Regions from separate parts of the Homo sapiens genome. Here regions 1, 3, 4, 5, 6 and 7 are each linked to region 2. The links are contacts of gene promoters, found by promoter capture Hi-C in blood cells and fetal thymus (Javierre and others, 2016). All regions are on one chromosome and are shown on one strand. The core of a region is centred on a gene start or on the middle of the fragment in contact, and the rest is flanking DNA. Distances in the headings are between cores, read along the strand shown.

Region 1 (3,448 bases), core at 698-3,197, 960 kb before region 2:
TTAGATAATTATTGAAAAGCATTTTGTAAGAAATAATTTTGTAAATTCTTCCTTGGGAATTTCTCAGACCGTGAGCTGAGAACTCTCTCCATGTAGCTTCTACAGATTGACCCCAGTTTTGTCCAGAGGAAGCAAGAATAAGCTTATACTTTTTTTTTCCTCTTTTAGCATTTAATGACCTCTGTCCTTTTAGGATGTAGTTGCTTATTTTGCTGCCAGTACTTCCAAAGTGTTTGGCTTACTCAGCATTACTCAAAGTTTATTCTAGCAAATGAGGCTTGCATGTATTTCCATATTTTTAAGATGTGGATCATTCAGTCTCTCCTTCACTGAAGATATTTGATTTATATTTGTTGACTTTACATGCTATTTTCTGCTTTGGCAGTCATGACTATACTAGAATAGGATGTTCTGAGAATTTTGGGAGGCAGGGTACCATATTGCTTAAGAGTATACATTTTGGAGTCAGGGATATGGGTGCAAATCCAGGCTCTATTAGCTTTGTTGTTTTCAAACAGTTATTTAATATCTCTGGGTTTTGGCTCCCTCATGTATATTATGAGGATAATGATGTTCGACTGACATAATTGGTGTGAGGATTCAACTTGCTAAGATACAAAAGTGCTTAAAATAAAACAGATAAGAAGGGAACAGTAGACATCAGGGCCTACTTGAGGATGGAGGATCAGAGGAGGGTGAGGATCCAAAACCCACCTATCAGGTACTATGCTTATTACCTGAGTGACAACATAATATGTACACCAAACTCCTGTAACACACAGTTTATCTATAGAACCAGCCTGCATATGTACAACCAAAACTAAAATAAAAACTAAAGGGAAAATAGAACATGTGCCACAATTGGGTTTTACTTATTCGACAGAATTCCATTTATTTACATATTTATTTCTAATTAAGTGAATAAACATTGATTTCACAAATAGATTTTTGAACGCTTTTATTAACCAAGATCTCTGCTTGCTCCCGTCCTCCCAGGCATTAAAGACTATGCTCTTGGTATCTCCTAACTGGTTGGTTAGGTTCTACCTGAGAGCAGACATCCCACTAAGTGTGAGTTTCTTGGTGTAGACATCAGAAAACTTACAACTGGCTTTATCATGGTCCTCATCTGACATCTCTTGATTTTGACAGGAAGACAAGAATCATCCGAGAATCCAGGAATTCAGGCAGGAAATGGGAAAAATTCCAGATGGACATGAGAACAGCCCAAAGGAACTTTCACTAGTTAAGAAAAGGCCCCTGTAATTTTCAGAAGGGAGATCCTTTACATCTTCTGTCAGATTTGCACCATAGTATTTCACTTTCTTTGGTGTAATTGCCAATGGTATTGTGCTTTTAACTTGTTTCCAAATGTTTGCTGTCAGTATAAAGAAATGCAAATGATTTTCTATCTTGATCTTGTGCTCTGTGTGGTTCTAGGATAATTTTTATTTTTGGTAGATTCCTTGGAATATTTTATTTCTTCCTTTCCAATCTGTATGCCTTTTATTTATTTATGTTTCTTTCTTTATTGTGCTTGCTTGAACTTTCATCACTGTGTTGAATAAGAACAGAGAGGGTGGATGTCTTGGCCTTGTTCTTGATATTAGGGGGAAAGCGTTGAGTCTTTTCACCTTTAAGCATGAGGTTGCGTAGGCGTGTTGCAGATGTTCTTTCTCAAGGTGAGGTCATTTTCCTGTATGTCCTTGCTGCTTTTCTATCCAGTCATTCTGTCATTTGCCATGAGTTGGATGTCAGAGTCCCTAAGTATCATTTTGGAATTGTTTGTTTCTCCTTTCAACTCTATCAGTTTTTGCTTCATTTATTTTGAAGCTCTGTCGTTTGGCGCATATGTGTATGTATGTATACATATATATATTTTATATTTAGGATTGCTACTTTTTCCCTGGCAAATTGAGCCTTTTTTCATCATGTATTGTCTCAGTTGTATCTTTCTTCATTTTCTTTTTTTACTATATAACCCATTTTTTTTCCACTTTACTCTGATAAACCTGTTTTCATTTAAGATGTTATTAACATCAGTGTGATATATGTCTATTCAATTTGATTTGAAAAAATGCTTTGGCTTACAAGAGCCACAAACTTAATGGAAATCAACTTAACAAAAGGCAGAGTTAAAAGATTTACATATCTGGGAAGTTTAAGAAGGTAGCTCTAGTTTTGAACATAGCTGGATTCAAAGACAAAAAATTCATTTAGTCTCTTTCTTTCTCTCTCCCTCTTTCCTCCTGCTTTTCTGTGTTAGCTTATTCTCACTTAAATCTTCTCCATACACTGTCCAAGATTATAACACATGCTGTTAGCAGTTTCAGATAAACCAGATGGTTGTTTTTGTCAATGGCTTCAGGATTTTTCTGGCCTGTGTCATGTCCTCATGTCTAAACCAATCCCTATGGCCAGGGAAATGGGACACTGTGACCAGTTTGAGTCATGGTCCCAACCCTGTGTCATCACAGGCTGGACCATATAAGTGACCAACTCAAAAAGAACATGGTGGTGGTTGGTGGGGTGGGGATGAATTTCTAAAAGGGAAATATTATGAGAGATAGAAGTACCCCAAATCTTCTAAAACATCCTGAAGTCAAAAATTATACCACCCAATATGCAGCTCTTTATTGTATGCCTCAAGTAAAAATGATTTGAGTATTCAATGAGGCAATAGTAATGAAAAGCCAGTTTGTTTCAAAGCCCTGGTTATGTCACTTTCCTGGAAATATTTGCAAAGAAATAGGAACCGTCTTCTATATTAACTTCCTCAGCTACCTATTATTTTCTCTTGTTCATTGTCAAGCAAAAATAAATAAAAGCAAAAACCTTTGCCACATGAGTTCAGGAGGGAGGTAGGATAGGAATTTGTATTAGTCCATTCTCATATTGCTATGAATAAATACCCAAGACTGGGTAATTTGAAAGGAAAGAGGTTTAATGGGCTCACCGTTCCTCATGGCTGGGGAGGCCTCACAATCATGGCGGAAAGTGAAGAGCAAGCAAAGGCACATCTTACATGGTGGCAGCCAAGAAGAGTGTGTGTAGGGGAACTCCCCTTTATAAAAACCATCAGATCTCATGAGACTTATTCACTATCATGAGAACAGCACAGGAATATCTTGCTCCCATGATTCAGTTACCTCCTACCGGGTCCCTTCCACGACACGTGGGGATTACAGGAGCTGCAATTCAAGATGAGATTTCAGTGGGGACACAGCCAAACCATATCAAGAGGCAAAGGAAAAGACTGGAATGATTGGTTGTCTGAGACACTTAAAATCCTGGGAGGTTGTTCCACACATCAGGAGTAACACAGACACTGACATTCACAGGCAGGAAGCATATGGCAAGAATGAGTAAAATCGGAATGGAAGGTTGTTGAGAGGAAAAATGAAAGAAGGTTGAAGAAATTTCAGGAAAGGAGAAAAGTACCAATTAG
Region 2 (3,816 bases), core at 172-2,671:
GAAACACTACACAGAAAGAGGGAGGAGCCTCCGGGTAGGTTGGAGTGAGTAGGATGTAGGGTAGCCGGCAGGGGAGAAGAGGGGCAACCTTCTGTTCCGTAATATTGATACCACCCATTTGTGTGTCCAATTTTTGCTGGTTTGTGACGTCCTTCTAGGGTCCATGAGTAACCCCCACCCCATTGCCTAGCTGGGTGCCTGACTCCCCTTAAGTGCTCAGTAGACGTTGAACTGGACGGGCGCTGGCGTGGTGGCTCACGCCTGTAATCCCAGCAATTTGGGAGGCCGAAGCGAGTGGATCATCTCAGGTTCGGAGTTCGAGACCAGCCTGGCCAACATGGTGAAACCTTGTCTCTGCTAAAATTACAAAAATTAGCTGGGCGTGGTGGCGCGCGCCTGTGATCCCAGCTACTCCGGAGGCTGAGGCAGGAGAATCGCTTGAACCAGGCAGGCGGAGGTTGCAGTGAGCCATGATCGGGCCACTGCACTCCAGCCTGGGTGACAGAGTGAAACTTCATCTCTAAATAAATAAATAAATAAATAAATAAATAAATAAATAAAATAAACTTTGAACTGAACAGGGGCAGCTCTTACATCTGTCCAGTCTCGGGTTTATGCAGATAGAACAAGATAACCACATCCCACATGGGAGGCCAGTGTCCACTTGCTCCTTTGGAGGAACTACTGGGCATTTAAGGGACTCGTTGAACACACTCTGTAGGTCAACTCTGCCCGGAGTGGAGGGAGCTGCGCAGACCGCTGGCCCTCTGCACGGGTTTGCAACTCGGCTTCTGGAAACAGCGGGAGACGTCGAAGGAGGCGAGAAGGTGCGCGCGCCCTTCTCACCAGGCCGGCGGATGCTGGGTGGTACCCAAAGAGGCGCTCAGATCACTGGAGCTGGAGCTCAGTCGGCGGTCTTCTGCGGGAACTGCACCTATCCCGGAGCATCTCTGGCCCTCCTATTTCACTGAACTCGCCTTCCTCAGCAGGAAAGTGGGAAGACCGCTTGCTTCCAGGACGGTGTGGGGAAGGGTAAGAGGGCTCAGGGAAAGACCGTGGAAAGCTCGGCGCACAAGCGAGCTGGCATCACCGGGGATTCCCTCCGGCCCGGTGGGACTCCGGCGCGCTTGTAGCGAGGACCCCCAGCCCAGGGCAGAGCCTACCCTCCGCTCCCCCAGTCTGGGCCCTTGGCGGCCGCAGTCGCCCAAGCCCGCCCCGCCTCCGCGCGCGGCCCTCTCCGGCTCAGTGCCCTGCGCTGCCGGGAAGCAGGCTGAGGGGCGCACCGGGCGGCGGGCGGGGACCTGGGGAAGGCCGGGAGCGCCGGGACCGAGGACGCACGCGGCGGGCCGGGCCGCGCGCGCCTCCCCCCTCCCCCGAGGCCCGAGCGCGAGCCGCCGTGACGTCACGGGCAACCCGCCAGCCCCGCGCTCCTCCGGGCAGAGCGCGTGTGGCGGCCGAGCACATGGGCCCGCGGGCCGGGCGGGCTCGGGGCGGCCGGGACGAGGAGGGGCGACGACGAGCTGCGAGCAAAGATGTGCCCCGGGACCCCCGGCACCTTCCAGTGGATTTCCTTGCGGAAAGGATGTTGGCGGTCCCTGTGACCTGTGGAGACACGGCCAGATCTGCCCTCCAGTAAGTTCCAATTTTGTCCCCTGCGTTTCTGGAAACTCTCGAGACTTGGCCCTGAGTAGGGATGCGCTGTGAGTAGTCGGACGGAGGAAAGGGGCTTTCGGAATCCAATATGTGTGTGCTAGGCGTGCACTGTCCTCATCACCAGCCTCAAGACTGGTGGCGAGTTTGGGCGTTTGGGGAGGGTGAGGGGAGGGGGATGACACCGAATGGCCGGTGCATAGAGGCAATTCTGGATTTATGAACTTGATCAAAGGCATATTAACTAATTTCTAAAAATAGACCCCTCTGCAGTCAGAACAGATTTGGAGCCATGATGTGGTTTGGAGGCCCCTCTGGCGAAACTAGAGGTCTGTGAATGTGTGATCCTCCCTCCATCCTTTGACCATCACTCCCCGCTTCCTCTCACACCCCCTCAGGGCTGGGCGAAGGTGATTTCCAAAAACTCAGTAACTCCGTGTTTTGAGACTTTCTCAGTTTTTGCATCGCATGTGAGGGTTTGTTGGGTGCTCCTAAACCCTCATCATGGTCATTCTTCTTGGCTGGGCTGTTGATTTAATTAGGTTTGCCTTCTCTTGCTAACGTGCTCTTATTTATGCCAGTGTTTGTGGTTCTGGGTGTAGACTTTCAGGAAGCACAGCCATGAAGCTGCATGCGTCTGTGTGTGGATGCCTCATGCCTTTTCCTGGTGGTTTGCAGGCATGGAAGATTCTTCTGTTCATCTAAGCTCCTGACTTTAGGCCCTTCTAGAACATTAGAGAGGAGAAGAAATCACGTGCAAGGATTTAGGGACAAGAGGATGAGGTTTTGGTGTTTCCTTTCTGGTATTAGGTTTTCCAGAGAGAGGCTGTTAGCCTGTCTCTCGCCCACTCCACCACTGTGAATCCTGGCTACTGGGGCTAGTTCCTTGCTAGGAAAAAAAAACTCTAGAGAAATGTGTTTGTGTGTGGTGGGTGGGCGGGGGCCCTGAGGATGCAGGGACTGTGTCTGCTGTGTTGTCTGTTATAAGATGTTTCAGACCTATTTTGCATACTGGCAGCGACAAGTTGAGACTTGTTCAACTTGACACAGTCCTGTGGTCATAGCGAATCTTTCTAAAGCTCTGATCAGTCAAGAAGGGGGTTGTATCAATCCTCAGAACCCTGAGTGGAACTTTCTACAGGATTTATTAGGAGAAAAACCTTCCCGGAAGCTGCAGAAGGACAAATACAGAATCCGTGTCTGGGAGAAACCTCGTGGCCTGGTCTCCATTATTTGAGATGAGTTACATCTTGGAGGTGAGGACGTGCCTCGTGGTCTAAAGCTTCGGCACAAGGGCCCAACTGGAATTCCACTTACGGGTATGACTGTGGGGTATATGCTGTACCCATTGAATTCCCAGAGGGATTTGTTAAGTGGTTGTGTTGCTGTTTTGCCTGGTTAAGAGTGGCTTATTCTTGTTGCCTCATCTATCTTGAGTGCAGAATTTTTGCATAAACGGCTTCTCTTGAAAAATAGAAGTCCGTTTTTGTTTTGTTTTGTTTTTTTTCTGATTAACTTTCCTTTTCCTCTGTCTTAAACACCTTCCCCCGCCCCTCGCCACCTCCATGCTGTGTTTCTGTGGCTGGAGCTTTTCTGCACTGGAAAGGAGGAGTTCTCCCCTCTGTTCTGACATATCTGATCCCCACTAGTTTATATGATTGCTGGTCTGAAAACCTGGTGAATTCTCACTGCCCACATCAAATCAATTCCCTGTTCTTTAGTTGTTTTTTTTTTCCGCCTCCTGAGCGGTAGGCAGGCACTCTGGCTGGATTCTGGAGCCTGTGTTTGCCATGCCTGGGCCTTCTGCCTGCCCAAGATGGACACGTTTCTCTGGCAGCTTTGTCAAGAGATCTCCTGGACTATAAGACACCCTGTTCTTTCCTCCTGTTTGTGTGAGTGGCCCTGCATTTGGGCAGAGTATTGGCAGAATATCTGGGGGAAGTGGAAGACTTTGGATAGTTGCCGGTCCAGGTCGTCTGGAGAGGCAGTGGCAGGCCTGCTGATGGCTGCCCCTTTGCTATTTGTTTTATATCAGGTGGCCCTTCTGGATGTGTGGCCTTTTTATTTTGCATTTCCTTTCATAGTTGGCTGCAGACATAAGATTCTTCTTTTTCTCTTGTTTTGCTTTTTTTTTTTTTTTTTTGAGACAGAGTTTCACTCTTGTTG
Region 3 (3,426 bases), core at 256-2,755, 850 kb after region 2:
TATTAACTTAGTCACTCCTGTTTTCTTTTGCTTAGTGTTTTCATTATATATTTTTTATTAACTTTCAATTTTCCAACAATGTCATATTTGAAAAGAGTTGTAGATAGCATATAGTTAACCCATGTTTTTAATCCTCTTGGTATTTCTGTCTTTTAATTGGTTGAATTTAATGTAATTATTAATATGTTAGGACTTAAAAGAGTAATTTTTTATTTCATTTTATAACACTTATAATATTTCATTTCATTTTTTATTTACTCTTTGTTATTGTTTTTCACTGCACTGGCTTTTTCCCTTTTTGTGGGTTACTTGAACGTATTTTAAAATTCAATTTTAATTTATCTATTGCATTTTGAGTGTATCTACTTGTATAGCTATTTTTAATTGTTGATCTAGTTGTTATATGTCATAACTCTAGGTAGTTATAACTGTAGATGTTCAATAGGTTAGGCATGTTAAATACATTTTGAATACATGTACACACACACACACACACACACATACACATTACTGGTGTCATCATTTTACCAGTTTGAGTGAAGTATAGAAAATTTACCTCTTTTTACAATCTTTACCTTCCTGTTTATAATTGTCTTAAATATTTTTGCTACATGCATTTAGAACCACATCAAACAGTATTACAACTTTTGCTTCCATCATCAAACATAATTTCAAAATCTCAAGGGAAGAGAAAATTACCCATATTTTTGCTTACTCTGTTTGTCTGTTTGTTTTTCTTTACTGATGTTCTTAGGTTCCTTTTATTGTTTCATTTCTGTTCAGGGAAGTTCATTTACCTAATTTCTTAGGGTAGGTCTCCTAGTGACAAATTCTGATAGTTTTTGTTCATATGAGGATATGTTGATTTTTTCTTCATTATGGAAGTATATTATTACTGCATATAGGATTATAAGTTGGCAGGGTTTTTTCGTTTGTTTGTTTTTTGTTTTGTTATTGTTGTTTTGTTTCTTTTTTAAAGAGATGGTCCTGAACTTATGGTAGTTCAACTTATAACTTTTTAACTTTGCTATGGTACAAAAGAAATACTCATTCAGTAAAAACTGCACTTTCAGTACCCATAGAACCATTCTGTTTTTCACTTTTAGTACTATACTCCATAAATTACAATAGTTATTCAACACAATAAAATAGGCTTTTTGTTAGATAATTTTGCCCAACTATAAGCTAATGTAAGTTTTTGAATATATTTTAGGAAGACTGGGCTAAGCTTCCTGATGTTCAGCAGGTTAGGTGTATTAAATGCATTTTTGGCATATTTTCAAAATATTATGGGTTCATCAGTATGTAAACCCGTCATAAGTCAAGGAATATTTATACTTGAAAATTATTGTCACTTTCTCCTGACCACTATAGTTTCTAATGAGTAATCTGTTATTATTAGAAGTGTTTTTCCCTATAGGTAAGGTGTTTTATTTCACTTCTTTCAAGATTTCTAATTTTAGTTTTTAGAATTTTGACTATTATGTATTTTGATGTGGATTTCTTTAGATTTATTCTGTTTGAAATCCATTCAGTTTCTTGAATCTCTCTATTTATGTATTTTCTCAAATTTGGGAAATTTTTAGCCCCTTTTTTAGCATTTCAAAAAATAGTTCAATGTGTTTCTGAGGCTCTGTTATTTTCTCCAGTCTATTTTCTGGAACAGTGTATGTTTGGAATGGGCAATTTTGTTATCCTATCTTCCAGTTCAATGATTCTTTCCTTTCCCTCCATTCTGATGTTGAGCCATTCATTGAGATTTTTAACTTGGTTATTATATTTTTAAGCTTACCCTTTTTGTTTGTTTCTCCTTAATGTCTTCGATTTCCTGTCAGAGATTTTTTATTTTATTGTTGGGACTTTCTGTTTTTCTGTTTGTTTTAAGCACCTTTGTAATTGCTGGTTAGAACATTTTTCTGATGTCAGCTTTAAATTTTTTTAGATAAGCTAATATCTTTTTCACCTTAGTCTTCACATTAATTAGAGACTTTTTTATTTAGTTTGAGATCTTCCTGGTTTTTGCTGTGACAAATTACTTATTTTTCAAACCTAGGACATCTTCAGTATTATGTTATAAGATTCTGGATATTATGTAAATCTTATATTTTAGCTAAATTATTTTGATAGTACTTTAGCAGGGGAAGAAGAGATGCTGCATCATTATTGTCAGATGAAAGTAGATGTCAAGATTCCTTCTTCGCCTCTGTTGACACCCAAGGGAGGAGGCTGTTTGTTAACACTGGGTATAGTGGAAGTCTTGGCTCCTCACGGGGTCTCCACTGATGTACTCCTACCCCTCTTGGTCTGGGAGATATCAGTGTAGACCTAGTGAGAAGCCAAAACTTCCACTATCTGCAGCATTAACAAAGAGCCTCCTCCCTTGAGTGTCAACAAAGGCTAACAAGGGAATCTGAACATCTACTTTCATCTGGCAATAATGATTCAGGATCTTTTCTTCCCATCAACACCATTTAGGGTTTTAGCCTTGTTACTGTTGGACAGTAGTAAAAGTTCTAAAGAAGATGTGTTCAACATCAACCCGTCTTCTACCATCAACACCACAAGGGTTTTAGCTTTGTTATTCTTGGGCAGTAGTAAAAGTTCTGACTCTCTACTGGGATTCCTCTGGCATAAATCCAGGAAGGAGTGTAGTGGTGCTGCATTATTGTCAGGTGGGAATGGAAGCATAGACTCCCTACACAGCCTTCTCTGAAACCATCACAGTGGGGAGGTTAGAATACCTTGTTAATGCCAGATAAGGGTGAAAGTTGAGTTCCCCATTCAGCCTTTGTTGTCATGTGTAAGGATAAAGCCACAACATATACTGTGGTGTTTGGTGTTTGGCTAGAATAGTAAATTTACTATGTACAATATTTCTGACTTGCTAGATGGCTCCTTTCCTGCTTTTTTCACTCAAGAGAACAGATTTAATTATTTATTTATTATTAATAATAATTATTTAATCTGTGCCCATTGACATTTTTGGGTTGCTGACGTCTTCAGTTCTAATCTGGGAAATGTAAAGCAAAAACAAAATTCAGGAAACTCATCACCATATCATTCCTTGCTCCCTAGCTTGTCTGCCTTGACTCTACCTGTCAGAGTATTCTTATTATGGTTTTATGTATAATACACAGAGTTTTTTGTTTTACTTAGCAGGGAGAATAGGGAAAATTACATCTACTCAATTTTTCCGTAAGTGATTTCACAGCGTATTTATTACAAAGAGGGATATTGATTTTTTTTTCCTCCTTTCTCACTTCCTTTCCCTCCTCCTTTCTTCTCTTTCCTTTCCTTTTTCTATTTACTTTTCTTTCCTTGTCTCTTCCTTCCTTCCTCTCTTCTCTTATCTTCTCATTTTATTCTTTCTCTCCTATTTTTTATCTTCTCTCATTCTATTTTTTCCCTGCTCCAACTTTGTTTTGT
Region 4 (3,738 bases), core at 861-3,360, 520 kb after region 2:
CCACTCTGTGCAAACTGCCATTTGCTTACTACCTTCCAACCTTCATCCTCTCATTTCCCATTAATTTGTTCACTTATTCATATTCAGCAGTTACTTTGCCCATGTTGTGTAGCAGGCTAGCTGTATAAAGGACAGGCATGGTGTCCTAATGAAATGTACAGTCTAGTGAGAGGTGTTAAATAGTAAGTAGGCAATTACAATTCAGTATGCTAAAGGCTACAGTGAAGGAAGCAGGTAGTGTTAGAAAGCACAGAAGAGAGGGTACCTGACCTCTCTTAGTTGGTCAGGGAAGGAATGTAGGAAGAGTTGATGTTGAAGCTGGGTCTGGTCAGTAAAAGAGGGAGGTTGCCAGTGGTCTAGCATGAGAAAGCAACATGAATCTAAGGGACAACTCCATCTCTTGGCTCTCCCAGAGCACCAGCAATCAATTCTGCCAAGACTGGCTACTTTCAGCTGTTGAGCCTTTTTCATACTTACTTCCTCTTTTCTTGAGAAGTTGATCATAGATCTCAAATATGAGGCAATATGAATGACAACCACTAGCTAACCTTGGAATTCTTCCTCCCTGGCCTTTTAGTCAAACATGTGTGTCTCATGGAGAGATTCCTAGAGGTTGTGATAAATCCAGCTAGGACTCTCTCTGACAATGCAATTCTGTATCCCTTCTTACCATAAATGGAAATAAGTCTCTCTCTGTTTCTCTCTTTCTCTGTGCCTCTACGGTGAACATGAACACTACACTTGAGACTACGAATCAAAGAGTCAAAATGAGATGTCTAAAATCATATAGCAAGTTGGTAGCAGGGCAAAAAATTTGAGACAGATTTCCTGTATGAGCAACATCTTTGCATGAATAATAAACTTTCAAGCCTCCAAAAATTTGCTCACGCTCTTCTCTCTACCTGGAATGCCTTTTATTTTATTTTTTTTTCCATTCTGCTAGGCTTATCTCAAAGCTTCCTTTAGAGGCTTCTTACAATTCCCCACTCTTCACCTCTGCTTCACTGCCCCAGTCCTGGAGAGAATTGACCACTTGCCACACTGTGCTCCGTAGCCTTGGCTGAGGTCTCTGTTTTAGAGTTCATCTTTTGCTGCTACACTTGTATATGTTAGTGTCTATAAGTTGTGTAAAGACTGGAATTATCTCTTAGTCATCTCTGTATCCTTAGGATGCAATAGGTCTTCAATGAACCTTGCTGAATGATTCAACGAACAAATTCCAGAGATGTCATATCTTATTTGAGTCAAGGTGCCTTTCAGTTTAAAGCCATCTGCAGGGTTTTGTTGAAACCCCAAAGAAGGTCACATCCCTTCCAAATAAACCTTTATCTTGACAATGTTCTTGGAGCTGGAGAGCTGTGTAGACCTGGCTATTGGCCAATATGAAGACGGGAGAAAACTCCTGTGATGGGTGGGCTCAAGATTGCCGTCATGTACATGCACTTGATAAACCAGTATTTTACAGAAGCAAATACAAACCATGGTTACTAGCTCAGATAAATACTGGGAATCCTTCCTCTGTCTTAAACAGGATTTCCTTGGTGAATTTTTTTTGTCTTCTTGGAAACATCACCATGCTCTCTGCTCCCTTCAACTGCAGTTTTCAAATCCAGGGGTCTGAGTCTGGGCCCAAGTGGCTGATTCCAAGTAGAGTGGTTTCAGAGTCTGAGAAGAGATCTTTCCTTAGCTAAGTGTAGCACACCATCTCTCTCTCTCTCTCTCTCTCTCTCTCTCTATCTCTGCCTGTACAGTGAACATGAACACTACACTTGACACTGTAAATCAGAGAGGCAAAATGAGAAGTCTAAAATCGTATAGCAAGTGCAGCAAAGTGTAGTAGAGGCTTTAGAGTCTGAAAGACCTGGGTTCAAAGTCTGGCTCCACTATGACCACTTTGGGAAAGTTACTTTGCTGCTCGAAGCCTCAGTTTCATATCTGCAAAATGGATGTTTTTCTGGAAGAGATTTGGAGAGGATTCAAGGTGACCACAAAAAGGGACAGTAAGCAGAACGAGATGCGTACTTGGTGCTTTGTAATCCCAGGTGAGCTCCCTCTCTTTCCAGGGACATGGGGAAGCCGAGATAGAAAAGAGATGTCAAGATAATCTTTTCTGAGAGTGCCAAAAGCTGCTAAACCAAGAAGCGTTTTGTATGAAAAGCCACTTCTTTTGCACCTATTTTTTGTTTCCTTTTTTGGATAGTGGCAAGGGTCAGTGTCTTCCTCTCTCATAGGCTGTCTCATTTCCCTCCCTGCTCTCAGCTCAGCTGCCTGAAACCACCAATTGTTCTTTTTCTGAATGGAGCTCCCCATGGGGCCCCTTTCCCACCACAGTGGTTGTTTGTGCCCCTCCCCCAATTCTTGCACCTCTGTCTCCCACCCCCGCTGTTGCTCTATTCAGTGACCATTTCCCAAATACCAGGAACTCAAGGTTTGTAACAAGAACAGCAACCTTTTTATTACTTTGGTCCTGGGCTGCGACCCTAAGCAGCACATCCTGTTAGAACAAAATAGGTACTGAAAGCAATAAATATAACACCACACCGAGCACCCCTCCCTGTCACATCCCCCACCCTGCCAAATTCCCCAAGAGGTGTCACAGGGGTGAGATTGAGAGAGGGTGTTCAGAACAGGCGCCTTCTCCTCTCCCCTCCACTTGTTCGCCTATTGAAGAGGATATCTCTCCTGTTTCTTTACATTGGTAACCCTATGTACATAAAACAAAATTGAAAAGGTGCAAAGTGGTGTCCAGTGAAGATCACCCGCCTCTCCTATCCTGCTTCCTTAAATTCGCCACTTGAGAGGCAAACTACTGTTACTGGTTTCTTATGCATCTCTGCAGTATTCTACACATATATGTATGGTTTTATTTTTTCACAGACAAGGTAGCATGATTTTGCAGCTGGCTTTTTGTACTGAGCACTGTATTTTACAACTCACCTCCCAGTCAGTAGATAAAGACTTCTCTCCTTCTAAACTGAGGAAGAGTCCTCATTTACATGCATGAATCAGAGTTGATTCAACAAGTCTTCTGCTGACGGGTGTTTACGTTGTTTGCAAAAATGCAGCTAATAACTTTGTGCATAAGTCATTTCCCCCGATTTAGTTCTAAATCTATTAAGAAAAATATGTAGGTTGGAGGTACTACGAGCTGGCTCAGGAACACAAACACCTGGAATTTCTGGAATGTTCCCCACCAGCTCTGATTGTCCTCCTGGGGAACTCTCACTCTCCTTTGAAGGTGGGCTCATAGGTCACTTCCTGCCTTAAGCTTTCCAGATCAGTCCCAGCCAGAGAAAGTTGCTTTATATCTTTTGGATTTCTAGGTGGTGGCTCCCAAATTGTGGCTGTGTAAAGACCCCCTGGGGGAGCTTACTAAAGCACAGATTGCTGGGCCCCACCCATCCTAGAGTTTATCATTCCAGAGGTCTGCAGTGGTATCTACAATGTGCATTTCTAACCAGTTTCTAGGTGATGCTTCTGCTACAGATCAAGACCACACTTGGAGAACCACTGATAAGCGATTTTTCTACCTCTGTGATCGCTGCTGAGTGCAGCTCTTACTGAAAACCACTTCCATCCTCTCGCCAGGCTGGATTAGCCCCTTCTGAAATACTTACCCGTCTTTCCTCAATAGGCTGAAAGCTCCATGATGGCAGAGACTGGTCAAGTGTTTATTCCATACTTTATCTTCAGGGCTTGATAGAGCCCGAAGAACATAATAGATGCTGAATAAATGTG
Region 5 (3,637 bases), core at 55-2,554, 620 kb before region 2:
CAGAGTTTTCTGCTGTGGAAACCATGCTCCAGGGAGCATTAACTATATAGAAAATAAACTAACACCATAAATAACCAGAGAAACCCCAAATATCTCTAAATGTGGAACTCTCTAGTAAGAAACTGGGATTGCAGGAATGTCTGAATCCTACCCCGTTTCTCAACAACCCCTCTATGAGATATCTGGGAAAATTCATGCTTGAAGATGAAGGAGAAAAGATAAACAAAGGTCTGGAGTTTTCTGAGCTAGATTGATGCCCCAAAGTCTTAGTAAACTGAACATAAATGGCCCAACTAATAGACTAGAGGGGCTCTCCAATTCTCAGTTTTCTTATCAAACCACAGAAGAGTTGCAAAAGTGTAGAAGGACACACACACATGCACGCACACACACACACACACACAGAGAAAACACATACACACACAGAGACACAGAGAGAGAGAGAGAGAGAGACTTCTAGAGGGTCTTTTGTCATAAAGAATGGAAGGAGAGAGCAGAGATGCCCACAGGTAGATAACGTTTCAACAACTGTTGCTCCCATTTAATAGTCAAATTGAGCACTCCACAGGGCAAGGTGAGGGTGAGGCGAGCAAGGCCCTTCAGGTGAAAATTTTACAGAGGCATGGATTCTCAGATTTGTGACACCTGCAGGGTCAGCACCTGCGAGTGGGTGCTTCTGGAAATGTTGCACCCTGTGAGCCTCACTTACATTACCCTAGTCCCAGGTCTGCAGTCAGTATCCTAAAATCAAAACAATTTATCAGTAAATTCTGCTCTTATGGAGGATCTAGGTGAGAAGAGGTGTGGGAACCTGTATCTCCCCACAACCCTAAGCATGGACCTTCCTATTGCCTTGCATCTGCCATTCCTCTAGACTCTCAGTCCTTCTCAAACTATACTGCACCTGGGGATCTTGTTAAATTGTATTCTGATTCAGTAGGTCTTGGATAGGGCCTAAGATTCTAAATTCTAACAAGCTTCCAGGTAATGTTGATTTGTAATGGTCCACTTACCACTCTGAGCAGCAATGCCTAGAAATGATGGTTCTTCAAATCCAAGTGATAACCCATAGTAACTAACTCATTAGCTTAGTTCTGCCGTAAAGTCAGAACAAAGCAAGGAGAAACAGAACCTCTGCAGTGAATGGAGGAATTTCTGAGGGTCACTTGAAAGCAGAAACTCAAGAGCCTGAAAGAATAATAAATACATAAGCTTCTGGATATTTGCAGAAATGTAATAAAGTTGTAAGATTCAGGGGCTTATAATAAGGTTGGCTTAAACCAAGAAAATTATGCTTGTTTCATACTGCTTCCATTCCAAACGGCTTCTTTCCAGATAGATAGACCTGTCCTCCCAAAAAATCTAGTCATCTCATAGAAAGAATCAAATGGCAAATTGAAGCTTTTAGGTACTGTCCTGGATCATTTTGTGTTGTGAGAAAAGAATACCTGAAGCTGAATAATTTATAAAGAAACGAGGTTTCTTTGGTTCACAGTTCTACAAACTATAAGAAGCCTGGTACCAACATCTGCTTCTGATGACACCCTCAGGCTGCTTCCACTCACAGTACAAGGCAAGGAAAGGCTGGTGTGAACTGACCACATGGTGAGAGAGGAAGCAAAAGGGAGGGGGGCAGGTGCCAGGCTCTTTTTAACCACCAGTTCACTTGAAAACTAATGAGTGAGAACTCACTCACTTCTCCTCCCACTCCAGGGAAGGCATTAATCTATTCATGAGGAATCTGCCCCCATGACCTGAACACCTCCCATTAGGCCCCCATCTTCAAAATTAGGATCCAATTTCAACATGAGGTTTAGGGGGACAAACATCCAAACTATAACAGACACCTTTGCACATGCATCAACTCTGCATAATTCCTGATATCTTACGGGTGCAAATAAAGTGACTCAACATTGATTTAGCTACCATTTTCAAAAGTGTCCATAACATTAAGCACAAAAATTTATACCATTACAGAAATAATTTATATTGCATGTATATCTTCTTATTCAAAATTCCTTATTTTCACATGATGTTGTGCTTGGCAACCTAGAAGGACATGCAAAACACACACACACACCACACACACACATATACACATGTACAAACACATGCACATACACACAGCAATACTCACATACACACACACACCCATACACACACACATATACCACACACATACACACACACACCCCACACACAAAAGCATATCTACAGCCACAGGAAATCCTTGACAAATTCATAAGACATTTAAAGTTTTTGAAAACAATTTTATATTGACAAATAGGACAAAAGAGGATTGAGTAGCTGCTACGTAAGAAATATCATGTGAAACATGGTAAATCATGTTAGATCAAAAGTATCATTTACTTCTATATCCCCAATTCCCAGGAAAATGTTTCATATACAGCATGTAGTTCATTTCTATTTTAATGTATATAAATAAATTGTTGAAAAAAAAAACAGAGAAATGGAAATGCCATGGTAATGATTCCATCTTAAAGCAGTATTTTAGCCAGGATTAGGGGAGGAAAGACCAGGAACAATCTCTACCAGTGGGACCTGGAAAGAGCAGATCAGGGAACAAGTTTTCAAGTGAAGCTTGAACATTTAAGGCAAAACTTTAGTCTTGGTGAAATAAAATCTGGGACAGGAAGTGAGAGAAGAGTCCAATTATTTTGGCCAGGCCAGTTTGAAGGGCATCAAGGAAAACCTTCAGAGCAGTCAACATTCCACCATTCAGTGTTGACACCAGATACAGCAGGAACTAGCCATGCGCAGGAAACCATTCTTGATTTGGCCATTGCTGGCTAGGGTTCCATGCAGACAGCTTAACCTTGCCAAATAGACCTGGAGCTGCTAATATTCTCCCTTGTGCTATCTAGGTTTCCTATATATTTTGCCTCCTTGATCCACTAGAACATGGGCTCCATGAGGGCAAGAATGCCTCTTTTATTATACCAGCATCAAGAAAAGTGCCTGGCAATGGAATATTATGCAGCCATAAAAAAGAATGAACTCCTGTAATTTTCAGTAACATGGGTAAGCTTGGGGGACATTATGTTAAGTGAAATAAGCCAGGCATAGAAAGATGAATATTGCACATTCTCACTCATATATGGGAGCTAAAAAAGCTGATCTCATGGAAGTAGAAAGTGGAATGGTGCTTACCAAAGGCTGATAGGGGAGGCGATAAAGAGGCTTGTTAGTTACAAAAATACTGTTAGAAAAAATAAGTTTTATGGTTCAATAGCACACTAGGGTGATTATAGTTAATAATAATTTATTGTATATTTCAAAATACCTGGAAGAGAAGACTTGGAATGTTTTCCATACAAAGAAATGATAAATATTTGAGATGATGGATATCCTAGTTACCCCTATTTGATTATTATATATTATATGCATGCATCAAAATATCACACGAACTTCATAAATATGCAGTTATTATGTATCAACAAAAAGAAGAGTGAAACAAAATACGTACTCAATAAATATTTATTGCATGAATAAATAAATGAAGTAGAAAAATTAATGAACGCATGAATGAACTGAATGGACAGAAGCTTTGTGGGAGGCTTAGAGTACTTCACTTTGAATCAGGAATGATGATGCAGAGTATCAATATATGAAGTCC
Region 6 (3,412 bases), core at 715-3,214, 880 kb after region 2:
CTGAGTTGTCTATTCTGTTCTGTTGGTCTATGTGTCTGTTTTTGTGCCAGTACCATACTGTTTTGGTTAATGTACTCTTATATTCTAGTTTGAATTCAGGTAGTGTGATGCTTCCAGCTTCATTCTTTTTGCTTAGGATTGCCTTGGCTATTCAGGCTCTTTTTTGCTTGCATGTGAATTTTAGAATAATTTTCTGTAATTCTGTGAAGAATGACGTTGGTCCCCCTTGAGAACTGGAAGAGGACAAGGACGCCCACTCTCACCACTCCTATTCAATGTAGTACTGGAGGTCCTAGCCAGAGCAATCAGGCAAGTGAATGAAATAAAAGGCATCCAAATAGAAAAAAAAAAGGAATCAAACTATCTTACTTCACTGATGTTATGATTCTATATCTAGAAAATCCTGAAGACTCTTCCAAAGACTACTAGAACTGATAAACAATTTTAAGATGGTTTCGGGCTACAAAATCAATGTGCAAAAATTAGTAGCATTTCTATATACCAATAATGTCCAGGCTGAAAGTCAAATCAAGAAGACAGCCCCATTTACAATAGCCACAAGGAGAATAAAATACCTAAGAATTCATCTAACTGAGGAGGTGAAAGATCTCTGCAATGACAACTACAAAACACTGTTAAAAGAAATCAGAGATGACACAAATAATCATGAATTGGAAAAATCAATACCATTAAAATGACCATCCTACCCAATAATTTACATATATTTTTTCATTTTGACTGGTTGGTTTTTTTTCTATTCTACACGCAGATATCAACTGAAAGGTTAAGCCCTTCTTATCAACTTTTCTTGGATGAGGGTGGTGTCATTTCTAAGGAATACAAATGATGCAAATATATTGTTATTTAAAAATTATTTTTCATGGAACAGTAGATTATTTATGAGAGATTGTGGGGAACAGTTTTGACTCACTAGCATTGGAAATTATGATGCCAATTGAGTGCCTATGCAGTGAGCATAAAATGTTAGAGTTCAATGGAACTGCCAAAATTATATAATCTAAAACTCTCATTACAGGGAGGAAAAAAACTCATATTCAGAGAGGCAAAATGGAAAAAGAGAACAAACATTTATGAAGCATCTTGGCCCTTTCTTGCTCTCTACAACTAGCTGTGGTTTCTTCATCTTTTAATTTCTTAATGGAACTTGTTCATTTCTCTTTTTTAGTGCTCATCTCTCTATGTATAGATGGATGATCCTCTACACAGACGCAATAGAAAATCTTCATGTTTAAAGATTTTCCCATTAAAACCCTAGAGTCAGCATTGACTAGCATTGCTTATGGGGAGTCATACAGCAGCTGGATATTTCAAAGGATAAGATTCATTCTTGTGATACCATGTTTGTATCAATCTTTCCTTTTAGGTTGAAAGCTTCCTAGAGTTAGCCACAGTTCTTGCTGCTCTACATTGCCAGATTTAATCCTCACCTCAATTCTATAAATTTGATAACACTGATAAATGTCATAATGCAACATTTGACTAGAAATTTCAATTTTCTTATAAAAATCAGGAACATAGAAACAGACCCTCCCACTTTGGTGACATAGGCTTTTGGGAGGACAATTTAGAATGCATCCATTTCATTTAAAGAGGTCATTGCCATCTGAAGTTTATGCATTGCACAAATTTGGGGGAAAAAATCAGACAAAGAAATATTCAAAATAAGAAACAATTATTGGACATACCTTTATATAGTCACAGTGGAAAATCTCTTATACTTTAATGACTGAATTTTGCACAATGTGAACAAAACTAAGAATCTTTTATATTTGTTCAGCATTGATTAGTCTAATATAAACATGCATAAAGCATATAGTGTTGAGTTGTCAAAGGGCAATGAATAAAGTTTGGTACATAGTTTGCAAAGATGACCTCAACAGTTTTTCACATCCCAGAACACATGTTCCTTTGCAGTGTGACCATTCCTTCCATCAAGTTGTGGCACATATTTCTCGTTCCCTGGAATCTGGGCTGGCCTTACACTTCGCTTTGACTAAGTGAATGTTTCAGATGAGACACTGTATAACTTGCAAACCTAAATTCCAAGAGGTTTGTAGCTTTTGCTCTTGTCCATTGGGAATGCTTCCATCATCCTGCAAAGAAACCTGATCTAGCTGCCCTGAGGAGAGGCTATGAGGAGCAGTGATAAATCATCCCAGCTGAGGGCCCCTGGACCAATTAATCCATAGCCAGCCTCATTCACCAAAAACGTGAGTGAGGCAATCTTGGATTATCTAGTCTTTGATGAGCTACCAGGTACCTAAGTGATTTCAACCAAGACCAACAAATGAACTACCCAACTAAGACCAACTCAATTTGTTGGGCCACAGGATCATAAGCAATTGATTGTTATATTAAAAGTGACAGTTTTAAAGTTTTTTAATACAGTAATAAAGAACTGATATACCTAGCTCCTTCCAAGTAAGGTCTTTGGCTTAATTCAACAAACATTTATTAGTTCTTATGGCCACAACTATACCCTAGTCAGGTGGATATTGGTCATTAACACTAGAAATAAGCTTTAGTTGTGCCTGAATATTATGTATCTGTTACATATTTAAATTAATTATTAGTCCAGGATTACAAAAATGGATACACTGGGATGATTTGGAACAATGGATAATTTTCTCCTTTCATTGAATTTCTGCTTATTTTGTCATCCATAATTATCTTTAATAACCAGGTTATACTTCTTCTATGAAAGAAAGATCTTTTTTTGTTTTAAAGTTAATATTGTAACTATATAAAAAGTTGATATTAGAAACTACTCTAAAATAGAATTTAGAATTAAGTTTTTGCCTTTTTTCCTTTGCTTTTCTGACCAATATTAATCAGCCCCTTATATAATTATGTTTCAATATGTCACATTCTCTTCAAATGTGCCAGCTTTTCCTGTTCGTGTCCTAGTCTATAACTGATGCAATTTGAGGGCAGTTGAAAAGCTATCCTTTCTTATAAAATTTCCAACATTGGTATCTACATGTGGGAAATGTTAGGAAACTTACAATCATGGGGTAAGGAAAAGGGGAAGTAAGAAGCTTCTTCACATGGCAGCAGGAGAGAGAGAGAGAATGAGTGGGGAAGTGCCACTTTCAAACCATCAGATCTTGTGAGAACTCACTCACTATCATAAGAACTGCATATCATAAGAACTCTCCCCTGACACATGGAGATTACAACTTGACATGAGATTTGCGTGAGGACGCAGAGCCAAACAATATTATAGCTCTTTCTATTTACTTCCTGTATAAAACAGACTATAAACTGTCTTGAATGCAAAGTATCTAGAATAATTTTCAAAACATACTCAGCAAAAGGAAATGTAAAAATATTTGCTGACTTAAATTGAATTGAAAACTCAAATTACCCAAGAGAGTATTTTCTTCATGTT
Region 7 (3,502 bases), core at 457-2,956, 860 kb after region 2:
TATGATAGACAAGATATCTCACTTGCACATAGTAAGAAGTCAATAAACAAATAATAGCTCTCATAACAGTTACTTCCAATTCTATTATTTCTACTTCAGTGGAAGGAACAGGTAGTGTGATTGAGACTTTGGATACTAATGGGGAACATTATGTAGCCTCTGGGTTAGACTATACATGTTGCACTCACCAATTGTCTGGACCATCAACACATTCAAGGGTACAAGATGCACAGTGTTTGTATCCTGTCTGGCAGCACAATACTCCCCAGACTCCATAATGATCTGGAAATGCCACCATTCATATCTGCCCTCCTGACACCAAGATATGCAATCATTTCTTTGATTAGAGACGCTGGCCTCTGTAAGGCCCCTCTGAAATCACATAGACTTGACATTTTTAGTACTCACCCTTACATTAGAACAAAAGAATTTGGCTGATATCCAGGATGAGCTGATTTTGCTGAAAGTGGAGGTGGGGAAGGAGAAAGGGGAAGACCCCAGTAAGGTGTAAATGACAAAGAGAGGATGTGGTCACTGAATTTCAGGGGCAGTTTTCACCAAGAAGAGCATGACAGAGGAGTGCAGGTGATCCTTCCTGTGGAAACAAGGTAGTTCTCTGTGGTGAGTCACCTATCTGGGGTTCCCCCAAATCATAAATGGAGCCCGTGAGCCCTTGAACACAGAGACTGTATGCAACTAGGAGCCCTGAGACCTGTATCTTGGCCTTGCTGCTGCCACTTGCTCATTTGCTGTGAGATCTCATGCCAGATAGTCCCTCTTGGAGCCCATTCGCCCATTTGTCCATTAGAATGAGTATGTGTGTTTGGGAAGGAGTTATTTACATCTATGATTCTTTCCTAATGTGATTCTGCACTGATAGAAGAGGAACTTAAAGTGAGACTGAGAGAGGTAGCAGTAAGGCGTCTAGCAAAGACTTAATAAATCTTAGTTATTGGTATCTTGATCACCATTGTAGTTGCTGTCCCTATCATCATGATTGTCTTCTTTAATCATTACAAGGAAGTAGACAAAAAACAGTAAACAATCAGTTAGTCAACATTGTGCTTGGCAGGAAGAACACAAAGCTGAACAAAACACACTCCCTGTTCCAGAAGCACCTGTAGTCTAGACAGGGAAGCAATTAAGAAAATAAACCACAGCACTAGAGCCTACTGTGAATATAGAGTGGGAATTAGAAAGCAAAGGGAAGTCCAAGTGCTGAGCTCAGTACAGGGCAAAAGGGAAGTGAGAGGCTGCCTGCCAGGAGACCCTAGGTGGCCACACCCCTGCTCTGCTTCCTTTAGGCCTTCACCTGGGCCCAGCTGGACCAGGTGGTGGAGGTGGGGAAGGCATGGACCTTTTCCTTCTTCTTACTGATTCCTCCATGTAAATTTACATCTTCTCTTGAGAAATAAGTTTCTAGTGATGCCATTTAAATAAAGGGATTAAGACATATTCTAAGGAAAAAAATCTGTGAGAATTTAGTAAGATTTTAAAATTCCTAAAAATTTCCTAATTTCCGATTTTCATTTTTTGTCTACTTCTTTATAATGATTAAAGAAGACAATGATGATGATGGTAATGACAGTAATTATAATGATGGTGACACTAATACTAATAACTAAAATGTATTAAGTCCTTACTATGTGCCATGAACCTTGCATGCATTTTGTGACACATTAGTCCTATTTTTGTTCTAATTTTACAAATGAAAAAATTGAGACAAAGAATTGGCTAAAATCGCACAGTTTTACAACAGGAGGAACCCTATTTGAACCCAGATATGTTTGATTTCAGAGTCTGAGATCTTCACCGCTCTGCCTGCCCTGTGCAATTTCATGGTCTTACACTTTTGGTTTGGTGTCCTGGCCTTCAAGAGATGCAGAAAAGAGGTAGCTGGAGAGGCAGAGCTCCACTCTAACAAAGAGGCCCCTTACGGAGAAGTTGAGAGTGGCAGCTATGAAAAAGAGAGCAAACAAGCCAAACCTCTGGGATCAGCAAGGGGAAAGTAATGCATTTCTTGAGAGGGGAGCTGTGACTAAGTGGCCCAGGGAAGGAGAATTCATCTGGCTGCTGTTGGACAGAGCGTGCAAGAGTTGCTAATAAAATGAAAGTGATCTAGATAAGTACTTCTCATGCACTGGGCTGGCTCATCCTCCCAGAAGGGCAAAGAGGGAAAAGTAAATTCCTGCTTTGGAATTTGGAACAATTCCTGCTTTGGAACAATTCCTGCTAGTGACTGCAACATACTTTTCAAGGACTCCAATATATATTCAGTGTTTTGTGCCTCCACTTCTCCTTTGGAGGCATCTTCTAACCACATCTACCCTCTATAGAGGTGTAGCCACCTATTCAGGTGGCTATTTAAAAACAAACAAACAAACAAAAAAAAACAGCTAATCACTTTTAGTAGCTGCCAATGTTGAAAATTGCAAAACATCTTTCCCGTCTCACTGATTTTGCAGCTGTAGGTGAGTTTGCATTGTAGACTCAATGTGGAAGGAGACTCCTTTTAGCTCAGCTCAAGTAAAAAAGTAGCCTTGTAATCTCCTTCCCGCTGTCTGGTCCTGTGCTACATCTTCTCTCAGTACATTGCACAAGAAACATCATCATGGCCTCCATTTTATGATATCTCCCCTGAAAATTTGCTTAATAAGTTTCCCGCCAGAAAATGAGGGTTATGTAGAACTTAAAGGTGATTGAAACAGAAAGTTTAGGGCTCTTTAGAGGCCGTGTGTGTGTGTGTGTGTGTGTGTGTGTGTGTGTGTGTGTGTGTGTGTGTGTGTGTGTGTTAAGGCTATAGAGCTATATATAGCTGCTGCTTTTAAGTTCCCATCTACAGTGAAACACAGCTTCCGGCTTTCTCTGAAAAAGGGGCTCGAGCTTGCAAACAGGCCCAGTCACTGAGAAATACCTACATCCAGATTAGAATTGGTTGCATTTTTTTAAACCATAGGCAAAACTAATCTTATGTGGGGAAAATGTAATCCTTTCCCCTCTGTTACTTCTCCTGCTTAACCCTCAATCCCCTCCATCCCTGCAGTCATATAAAGGTGTTCCGGAGTGTTACCTATTAGGATGAAAAGAGAATTCGTATCTGGCCTTTAGCTCTTGTTAAGTGGTTTTCTAATGTTGAGCACCCATATTTTCACTGGTTTTAAATAAACACTTACAGAGTGAAGCACACTGGACTTGAAGAAAGAAGAGAGAACATTCACATTCCAGCATCATACTGGAGTTTGGGGATGTTGGTCAAGTTACTTTTGTTTCCACATCTGTACATGTCATGGGAAAATTTAAAAAGATATATAGAAGTGTTAACAGTAAGTAACTGGTTAGTAAGGACTTGGAGTTAGTTGAACGTCCACAAAATTTATTCTAGATCTTATGCACTGGGTGCTGAGCAAATATTGTTGCAAACACCAAAGTCACACTTTTAATGTATTTTTTTGTTAGAAGTGTAATTTTCATGAGTGGCAAATAAGCTCGTAAAAATACCTGA

The links. The method cuts DNA at HindIII sites, captures the fragments that hold promoters and counts their contacts. A CHiCAGO score of 5 or more calls a contact.
Region 1: a contact is called between a fragment that was not itself captured here and the fragment with the promoter of PVT1 in region 2, in 1 of 17 cell types (endothelial precursors). The highest score is 6.8, in endothelial precursors.
Region 3: a contact is called between a fragment that was not itself captured here and the fragment with the promoter of PVT1 in region 2, in 1 of 17 cell types (total CD4 T cells). The highest score is 5.4, in total CD4 T cells.
Region 4: a fragment that was not itself captured here is called in contact with the fragment with the promoter of PVT1 in region 2 in 1 of 17 cell types (total B cells); the score reaches 5.5 in total B cells.
Region 5: a fragment that was not itself captured here is called in contact with the fragment with the promoter of PVT1 in region 2 in 1 of 17 cell types (total B cells); the score reaches 5.3 in total B cells.
Region 6: a contact is called between a fragment that was not itself captured here and the fragment with the promoter of PVT1 in region 2, in 4 of 17 cell types (total CD8 T cells, activated CD4 T cells, naive CD8 T cells and 1 more). The highest score is 7.3, in total CD8 T cells.
Region 7: a fragment that was not itself captured here is called in contact with the fragment with the promoter of PVT1 in region 2 in 6 of 17 cell types (non-activated CD4 T cells, total CD4 T cells, total CD8 T cells and 3 more); the score reaches 10.1 in non-activated CD4 T cells.

What each region holds. Positions count from the first base shown.
Region 1 is chr8:126,829,293-126,832,740 of GRCh38, forward strand. The region is part of intron 3 of LOC105375751 (a long non-coding RNA gene); the gene reads left to right. The region is part of intron 2 of LOC105375753 (a long non-coding RNA gene); the gene reads right to left. Among named protein-coding and RNA genes, the nearest start is that of PCAT1, 180 kb to the right of the region's middle. The HindIII fragment of the contact is 3,615 bases long and covers 141-3,448 here.
Region 2 is chr8:127,793,103-127,796,918 of GRCh38, forward strand. PVT1 (Pvt1 oncogene) reads left to right here and starts at 1,422. Exons shown (of 9, transcript NR_190187.1): 1 at 1,422-1,632. It overlaps MIR1204 (microRNA 1204), which reads left to right and starts at 2,860; the gene lies at 2,860-2,926. RefSeq lists enhancers at 1-402, 1,545-2,114, 2,115-2,686, 2,408-2,457, 2,558-2,897 and silencers at 1,128-1,177, 1,198-1,257, 1,268-1,427. The HindIII fragment of the contact is 6,547 bases long and covers 1-2,930 here.
Region 3 is chr8:128,640,635-128,644,060 of GRCh38, forward strand. No RefSeq gene overlaps it. Among named protein-coding and RNA genes, the nearest start is that of LINC00824, 78 kb to the left of the region's middle. The HindIII fragment of the contact is 559 bases long and covers 1,227-1,785 here.
Region 4 is chr8:128,311,605-128,315,342 of GRCh38, forward strand. No RefSeq gene overlaps it. Among named protein-coding and RNA genes, the nearest start is that of MIR1208, 160 kb to the left of the region's middle. RefSeq lists enhancers at 1,905-2,588, 2,487-2,646, 3,273-3,738. The HindIII fragment of the contact is 2,312 bases long and covers 955-3,266 here.
Region 5 is chr8:127,173,177-127,176,813 of GRCh38, forward strand. No RefSeq gene overlaps it. Among named protein-coding and RNA genes, the nearest start is that of CASC19, 23 kb to the right of the region's middle. The HindIII fragment of the contact is 189 bases long and covers 1,211-1,399 here.
Region 6 is chr8:128,676,108-128,679,519 of GRCh38, forward strand. No RefSeq gene overlaps it. Among named protein-coding and RNA genes, the nearest start is that of LINC00824, 110 kb to the left of the region's middle. The HindIII fragment of the contact is 1,148 bases long and covers 1,391-2,538 here.
Region 7 is chr8:128,656,998-128,660,499 of GRCh38, forward strand. No RefSeq gene overlaps it. Among named protein-coding and RNA genes, the nearest start is that of LINC00824, 94 kb to the left of the region's middle. The HindIII fragment of the contact is 8,526 bases long and covers 1-3,502 here.